Linked DNA regions of Homo sapiens: region 2 is linked to region 1. The links are contacts of gene promoters, found by promoter capture Hi-C in human tissues and cell types (Jung and others, 2019). All regions are on one chromosome and are shown on one strand. The core of a region is centred on a gene start or on the middle of the fragment in contact, and the rest is flanking DNA. Distances in the headings are between cores, read along the strand shown.

Evidence for each region. The method cuts DNA at HindIII sites, captures the fragments that hold promoters and counts their contacts. A contact is called where the count stands out against the background at its distance.
Region 2: a fragment that was not itself captured here is called in contact with the fragment with the promoter of TMX3 in region 1 in 1 of the 25 tissues and cell types used here (H1 embryonic stem cells).

The regions. Positions count from the first base shown.
Region 1 is chr18:68,713,047-68,717,241 of GRCh38, reverse strand. TMX3 (thioredoxin related transmembrane protein 3) reads left to right here and starts at 2,134. Exons shown (of 16, transcript NM_019022.5): 1 at 2,134-2,306; 2 at 3,342-3,396. The coding sequence starts at 2,261. It also overlaps a transcript of CCDC102B not described here. RefSeq lists an enhancer at 1,807-1,876 and silencers at 2,077-2,206, 2,387-2,486. The HindIII fragment of the contact is 1,612 bases long and covers 1,325-2,936 here.
Region 2 is chr18:67,323,223-67,327,417 of GRCh38, reverse strand. No RefSeq gene overlaps it. Among named protein-coding and RNA genes, the nearest start is that of DSEL-AS1, 190 kb to the left of the region's middle. The HindIII fragment of the contact is 7,158 bases long and covers 1-4,195 here.

The DNA of each region.
Region 1 (4,195 bases), core at 885-3,384:
AGACATGGTCTTGCTCTGTTGCCAGGCTGGAATGCAGTGGCAGGATCACACCTCGCTGCAACCTCAACTTCCCTGGCCCAACTTATCCTCCCACCTCAGCCTCTGGAGTAGCTGGGACCACAGGTGTGTGCCACCACATCTGGCTAATTTTTTTTTTTTTTTTTTGAAACAGAGTCTTGCTCTGTCGCCCAGGCTGGAGTGCAGTGGCGCGATTTCAACTCACTGCAAGCTCGGCCTCTTGGGTTCATGCATTCTCCTGCCTCAGCCTCCCAAGTAGCTGGGACCACAGGTGTCTGCCACCACGCCCAGCTAATTCTCTGTATTCTTAGTAGAGACGGGGTTTCACTGTGTTAGCCAGGATGGTCTCGATCTCTTGACCTCGTGATCCACCTGCCTCGGCCTCCCAAAGTGCTGGGATTACAGGTGTAAGCCACCGCGCCAGGCCACATCTGGCTAATTTTTTAATTTTTTGTACAGATGGGGTCTCACTGTGTTGACCAGGCTGGTCTCAGACGCCTCACCTCAAGCAATCCTCCTGCCTCAGCCTCCCAAAGTGCTGGGATAATAGGCATGAGCCACCCATGCCTGGGACTTGATCAGTATTTAGATTTCATAAAATTTACAGTTGAAAAAGTAGATTCACATACCTCAGTTGTTCCAACCACATTAAAAAAACTTTCCAATAGCTGAATCGAGTGTCAGTTTTTGAGTTTACTGAAATTAAAAAAAATAAATATTCAGTTATTTCATCACACTAGGCACATTTCAAAAGCTCAATAGCCACATGTGGTTAGTGGCTACACTACTGAAAAGCACAGATCTAGGTCAACTGGCTTTTGTTGTTGTCCACATGTGAACTTAAACTGTAACGCAAATATAAGAGGAAATTATTTCACTTTGCATGCTGTGGAAGACAGAAAACTTTGAAATACATGAGAATGAAAAAAAAAAATTGAATATGGGTCATTCAGAGACCTTGCCAAGAAAGTAGAAAAGCTTCTGTATAAGAGTATCGAGGCGATGGTACTATTATAAAGCTGTTCCACCACCACCGGGAGAACATTCCCATCATTTCAACAGTCCCCTTACGTTTTAGTCTACTTTTTTCTTAAAAAAAAAAGAAAAAAAGGAAAAGAGAAAGAAAAAGAAAAATTGAATCTGTAGAGGGCTTGCGCTGGATACCATGCTGCATGCACAAAGGGGGTGACATTTAGGGCTTGCTCTCAATTAGAGTGCAATTTAATCTTCTAGTCACTAGGAATAACGACGTTTTATGACATTTTTGCCTGTTGGAATTTTGAACCTAAGGTGAACCGGCTGACATCATATCCCCCTTCTGTTGTTGTCACAGGTTTTCAAAATTTGGTTTGATCTAAATTCTCTGGTACCTTATGTCCCATAAAAATTTCATCTAGTTCGTAAGTAGTGATTGCTGCAGTAACCGTCTTATAAAAGTATATGGTTTTTACAAATCATTGTCGTATAGAAGAAAAAACAGGTAGCAATATAAATATTTCATACTACTTTATCTAGTTCCAAAATAATCAGAAAAGAGCCATCAAAAAATATCCTACGCTTAACTTCATGTTCTCAAGTTTCAAGAGAAAGTTTTTAAAGAGGCAATCCTTACTTTGGCAAAAATGCATTAAAGCTTGCTGCATTTAAGAGATGTCCCATTATGCAAACAGGTTGAAAGAATATTACAAATACGTTTTGGAAAAATACGGAGTGTCGCGCAGCTCAGCAATCCGCAGTCTTAATGCGCGCCTCTTTCCAGGAATTTGATCCAGCATCAAAACCCACAGGTGCACTCACCACACGGGAGTAACAAGTAAATGATGTGCCAGTATTCAACCTGCAAGTGCGTCGTCAGAGCCTACCTCACCCTCAGCATAACTTTCACCGGTATTCACCTTCCCGGAAACGCGCCCCAGTGAACCAGCACCGTTTTCCCTAGTAAAGCCCTTAAGCAGGGTTCCCACGCTCCTGGGCGTGGAGGGGGGCACCGAGAGCGCAAAGGATTCTTAAGACATGACTGCGCAGGCGCTGTCGCATGCGCCGCACTCCCCTCGCATGCGCCGCACTCCCGCGCATAGCCGGAGACGGAGACTGGCCGGGTAGCCCCGCCCCCGTAGTTAGCGCGGTGCTTCTCTTCCGCTCCGGGTCGGCTCCGTTTCCCTTTCCGGGCGGGCAGGCGGCGGACCCCAGTGTCTTTATCCCTCTTTTGCACAGTCAGCTTCTGCAGCTCTCCCGGGCTAGCATGGCAGCGTGGAAGAGTTGGACGGCCCTGCGGCTCTGCGCCACAGGTAATGGGGGCTCAGCGGTCGGGACGCTGGCGGGCGCGTGGGACCTGGCCCCGCCGTGGGGCCGGGATTGGACCCGGGTCTGGGGCGAGGCCTGCGGGGTTCGTGGAGATGCCCACCCATTCCCGGCAGCGTCCTGCCGCCCCCGCCGCGCCACCCTGCCTGGCCCTGACGGAGCGGACACCTTGGGGTCCTTCCGCCGCCGCTGTGCCGGACCAATGCTGGACGTGGGAAGGGCGCGCTGCCTTGTGTTTGTGTTTTTCTCATTGTGGCAGAAGTTTCAATAAAGCTTACTCCTTTGATGGGCAAGAAGGATGCCGCCGTCCCAGCTTAACGACCAAATCTTGCCTTGGCTTTAGGTTCCGAGTCTTGTCACGTTTAAGGATTTTTACCACCAGTACTCAAGAGAGGGTGGTCGAGGACAGATCAGGGTCAGGCCGCCGGGATTGTGCGGTGTGAAAAGGACCTGAGTGTGTGTCAGCGGTTCTCAGCTGCCTCCCGTCAGCATGGAGTGCCCTCATTCTCACTGGGGTCCGCTCACTTAACAACCTTTTAGAGCCCACTCTGTGTCAGGCACTGCCGTGTAATAAGTATTAGAGTTGCAGCTCGACTTTCTTCCTACGTATCTATTTGAGGGGAAATATTTTGAATGGCATTTGGAGTTTTTACGGAAGAGGTAATTGCTACTAAAGCAAAAGAAATAAAGAAGAATGCTGTCTATTTGTATTCCAAAAAGATAGGATGGTTAAAAAGAGACGTAAGATGAGAGTGAAAATATGGAGGAAAAAGGAACTGTGTGTATTAGATTTATTGGCTTACCTAGAACTTGGCCGGTCACGATATGGTTGCATACAGACTAAATATTTATTAAATGGATGAACTACCTTTGCTTTTGCATCATTTGCACCCTGGGATGCATCAGTGATGAATTTTTTGGTAGGTTGTGAAAGGTCAAAAACACTTCAGAGATGACTAAGCTTATACGGTATGAGCCAAATAATCAGCATTTATTGTGTACATTTTGTCTTTTTTTTTCAGTTGTTGTACTTGATATGGTCGTCTGTAAAGGATTTGTAGAAGATTTAGATGAATCGTGAGTATACATATATATATTTAAAATATTATTTTAACTGTCCAACTCAGATATCTGAATATTTGCATGTGATTCTAATATTTTAGATTGGAACCAATTTTTATATATCACTCATTTTTTTCACTTGTTGTAAGTGAAGGTGAGGGTGTGCCCAGAAGAGTTTTATTAATAGTTATGAGATCAAAAAACTGTGGCAAACTTTTACATATTCTTTTTTTCCTCATTATCTTACCTTGTATTTATGTCTTTTTCCTTTAATTATATTGAATGGGTGTTAGAATTTGGTAACTGTACTGTATTTATCTTCATAGTATGACAGCATTAATCAGCCTTGCTTATAGTAAGTGAGGAGGTTCACTTCAGACCCAAATTCCTGTGTGTGATCTTTCAGGCTTGACCATAGACAATTGCAAGGCTTTTTCTGGCATAGGGGAAGGTGCCCTCCCTACACCAAACTTGGTGTATAACCGGTGCATTACAGTCCCTGGAGGGAGTGGTAGTCAAGGATTCGGCCTCCCAGGCCAGCCACGCTCATTTGCATGTCTACACTCCCAACCCAGTGGTCTCTGTTTAGCAGCCTCCTTATTGGGACCTCACCTGAGGCATTTCCTGAGCACTTCTGCTAAAACATCTTTATTGAGGGTGTCAGCGGAGGCACTTTTCTACTCTAGTCCTTTTCTCTCTCACCCCCCATAAAGAGACAGAAGACTTTTGTTCAGTGCTGTAGGAAATGAGATGAATTCTCCCATCTGTGTCTCATCCACCTGACTCACCTGGTGCTGTTTCATGGGGAGAGATG
Region 2 (4,195 bases), core at 1,200-3,699, 1.4 Mb after region 1:
TGTGTCATCTTATAAGTGGGACTCGGAAATGAGAATACCATACAGATTTGTTATAATTTGAATTTTCACATCTAAAAATATAATTTCCCTGAGAGCAGGAACTATATATTTTCTTCAGTTCTGCCTCACTCTGTCCCTCATGCAATGTTTGGCACATAGATGGTATTTAATAAATATTAATGAGATAATTTTTGTCAATAAAATCACTATGATCCTGAATTTGTTCCTGAGTTGTGCAGTATCAAAAATACATTTGAATGTACACCAACAGTAGATTCCTGGGGGTAAACTCAAAGTATATAATCTGAGAGGAGAAAGTTACATAACCTACACTGCCAATATAGTAATTTACAAGGACACATTACATTCAGTTGAATTGGATGTATGTGTTGTTGTAACCAATAAGATCTTTCCCTTTAAAGGACAAGTGAAAATCAGGCAAATGTCAGATGAATAGCTTCTAAGAATAACATTAGAACAAGTGTGATTCTTATATGTTACCAAGTCTTTGTAACTGATTCTCAGGTTTACTCTGTCATTGTTCAGTTGACAAGTTGTTACTTATTCCATTCCAAACACTGTGTTTGAAATTTAAGTGAACTATTTTCAGGTTGAACCATTGAGCTAGATTTCCCAAAGTTTAGTAGAAAGACATTTGCTTATCTTCGCTAAATTATGATTGTAAAAATAAATATGGAATTTTTATGGATGAAGTTTTTAAAAATGCTAAATAAAAATGCTGTGATAAAACATACTATTAGGAGTTAAATTCAGAGAAACAAAAACGGTTTCTATGTGTCACACAGATTTAATTAGTTGGTATGGCTGTTTAGTATAAACTTCCTTTTACCCAGTATTATGTTTGAGAGACCATAGCGTTTGGAGACATATTTAAGGAAAAGCAAATAACTACTACCTCCCATGGTAACCCAGTGGAGAGTAACTACCTATCTATTCTGGACTATTTATCTACTTGACTGCAATGACATGAGACAGAAATATACTTCTACTTTTATTGTGCATCTCCATTTTTGCATCTCTTTGTGAGAGCAGCTTAACTGTGTTCAATCCTAAACATAACTGGGAAATAAAACATGACTGTTTACAACATATCTCATTCTCTTTTTGCTCAGTGAAAAATTACACACACACACACACACACACACACACTTTTGAAAAGTAAATATAACTTCTCTTCACTCCATCAACAAGAGGTGTTTTATTACTATAATTCAACAAAAGAGAGTCTATTCCTTGGCATGCTAGCATTCTTCGAAGGTAGTGTTCTTTATTAAAGAAAACTTTAATAGATAGAGTAAAGAAAGAATTAGGACAAATCATTAATAACATCATCTTGCTTTTGTTTAATGTTTTCTTTTCAGAATCAGTATTAGTTGCTTTCTTAATAATTCCAAATGTATATTAGGCATTAAATATTTATTGTTTAATTTATTTCTATTGTTTACCTACCATCTCTCACTGAAATAGGAGTAGATACAGTTAACAGGTTTTAGTGATTGCTATATTTTAAAGTAGCAATTTTTCCAATGGAGTTGGAAAAATATAGTGTATACTGGATGACATTTGTAAATATATTTAAATAGACTTCTTTTTATAAAAGCATATGATATGGTTTTCCATGAAATTTGTCATACAGGCAAAATAAATTTCTGGCTCAAGAAATGGGGATTTGGCCGGGTGCGGTGGCTCACGCCTGTAATCCCAGCACTTTGGGAGGCCGAGGCGGGCGGATCACGAGGTCAGGAGATCGAGACCATCCCGGCTATAACGGTGAAACCCCGTCTCTACTAAAAATACAAAAAAAAATTAGCCGGGCGTAGTGGCGGGTGCCTGTAGTCCCAGCTACTTGGGAGGCTGAGGCAGGAGAATGGCGTGAACCCGGGAGGCGGAGCTTGCAGTGAGCCGAGATCCCGCCACTGCACTCCAGCCTGGGCGACAGAGCGAGACTCCGACTCAAAAAAAAAAAAAAAAAAAAAAAAGAAAGAAATGGGGATTTAAAGTACTTAAAATAGAAAGATTATTACGAATAAAATAATTGAACACATTTTAAATTAGTGAAAAATATGGAATAAAGTTAAAAAAGTAAAATGACAAAAGAAGTAATGACGGCAATATATTTAATTCAAAAAGTATGTGCTATATTTCAGGTTGAGCCAATATGCATATCTGTCTGATTTGCAGACATGTGCATTGAAAATGTTCATCTTTGAATGATGAGAAAATAATGGTAAAGCTATAAAGTCTAGAGACTTGATGATTGTCTTGATTACAGAAAACATAATAATTAGATAAAATTATAAGTTAAGGTTTAAAAAATAAATATAGATGAAAAGAACAACTACTTTGTATTGTGATAGGCCTTAGCTGACTAATTAAGATATAAGGAAACACCAATTATTATTATTTTAATCAGTGAAGGTTAAAATAGACCTGAAATGGTAAAGACATTTTGTTCAATACAAGCAAAATAATATAATGGTATAAAATTCAACAGTTTATTAGAATGTTAAGAAATTCCAATCTTAAATAGGCTGAAATTGAAGTATGACTCAAATATTTAGGAAAAAATTCAACATTTACTGAAAATTACAATGGCATTCAAAATATCCACATTTGATCATGATAGAAAAATTATACAAATCTATACTTGATTAAACATTTACTAATGAAGCAAATTTTCATGATTTCTTGTATATATTTCTTATATTATCAGGCTTTTAATCTACATATGATCCACTTTGGTCCCCATAATCGAGTGGAATTTTGAGAATATATAAAAACATTTGGAATGTTAACATTACTTTTTAAAATCTGATTCCTGTAGGCTGTACTCTAGTTAGCCAGATCATTTTTTAATAATTCTAAATTAATGCAAATGCAATAATCATCTGAAATATTCCATCTTGCTACTAATAGCCTACTAAACATATTTATGTACCAAAAACTCATTAATTTATAACAAGTATTATGTACTATAAAACTAAATCACTATAAAACAATGTTAGTGTGACTATTAATATTTAGAAGTAAACAAAATGAACACAGTTAAACATTTATATGTTCTATAGTACTAATTAATTGTACTAAAATACATTAAGGGAGAACTTAAAAGTAGATTTATCACTGTGTGAGCTCAAAGAACTCTTCACAGCTATTGTTAGCCTATTTTACTTTTCATTGCCAAACATGATGTAGTGCTATCATCCCAACTGGCATTAGAAATGGGGTTAGAGGGATTACCAGTATACACCAGTATACAATATTACCAGTATACAATTTGCATAGCTAACAGAAATCTCATTTCTGTTTAAAGTTTAATTGGATTTGTCAGTGCTCTTCACTCAAAGACTGCCAGGAACCACCTATAGGTGAAGAAGTGAGGTTGATAACTCATTGCAGTGAAGGAGAACACATCACAATAACAGACTGTTAGAAAGGGTTAATTATAGAATTTGGGCTTGTGCTAGATAATTCTGGGGAGAGTTCAAGGAACCAGGGCTTTGCTCAATATTGGATGCCATCAGAATATGGAGGCATTCTGTGTTTGCATATCTTAATAAATCTTGTCTATAAGGTGGTTGTAGTAACGATTAGCTAAAGCTGTAATTAAAATAATTCTATGCTGTCACTTTCAAATATGTATTATTTGATTGTAATATTTTAAAATTTACAACATTTAACATTTAATTTTTCCTCTCAAGAAAACTTGCAACTTACCATGAAATGGACAAAGCTTAAAAAAAAATACAAACTACCAAAACTTACTCAAGAAGAAATAGAAAGCTTTAATATACCTATATTAATTAAATAAAATTAGTTCGTAATTTCAAATATTCCCAAAGAAACATCACCACCCACGTCACTTCACTGGGAAACTCTATCATATTATTTAATAAATAAATAAGGCCAGGTATGGTGGCTCACACCTGTAATCCTAGCAATTTGGGAGGTGAAGGCAGGAGGATTGCTTGAGGCCAGGTGTTTGAGACCAACCTGGATGACAGAGAGAGAGCCTGTCTCTACAAAAAAAAAGTTAAAAATAAAATAGCCATGCATAGTGATGAGTGCCTGTTGTCCCAGCTACTTGGCTGCTAAGGCAGGAAGATCGCTTGAGTCCAGGAGTTCCAGGCTGCAGTGAACTCCAGCCTTGGTGACAAAGCCAGACTCTGTCTCT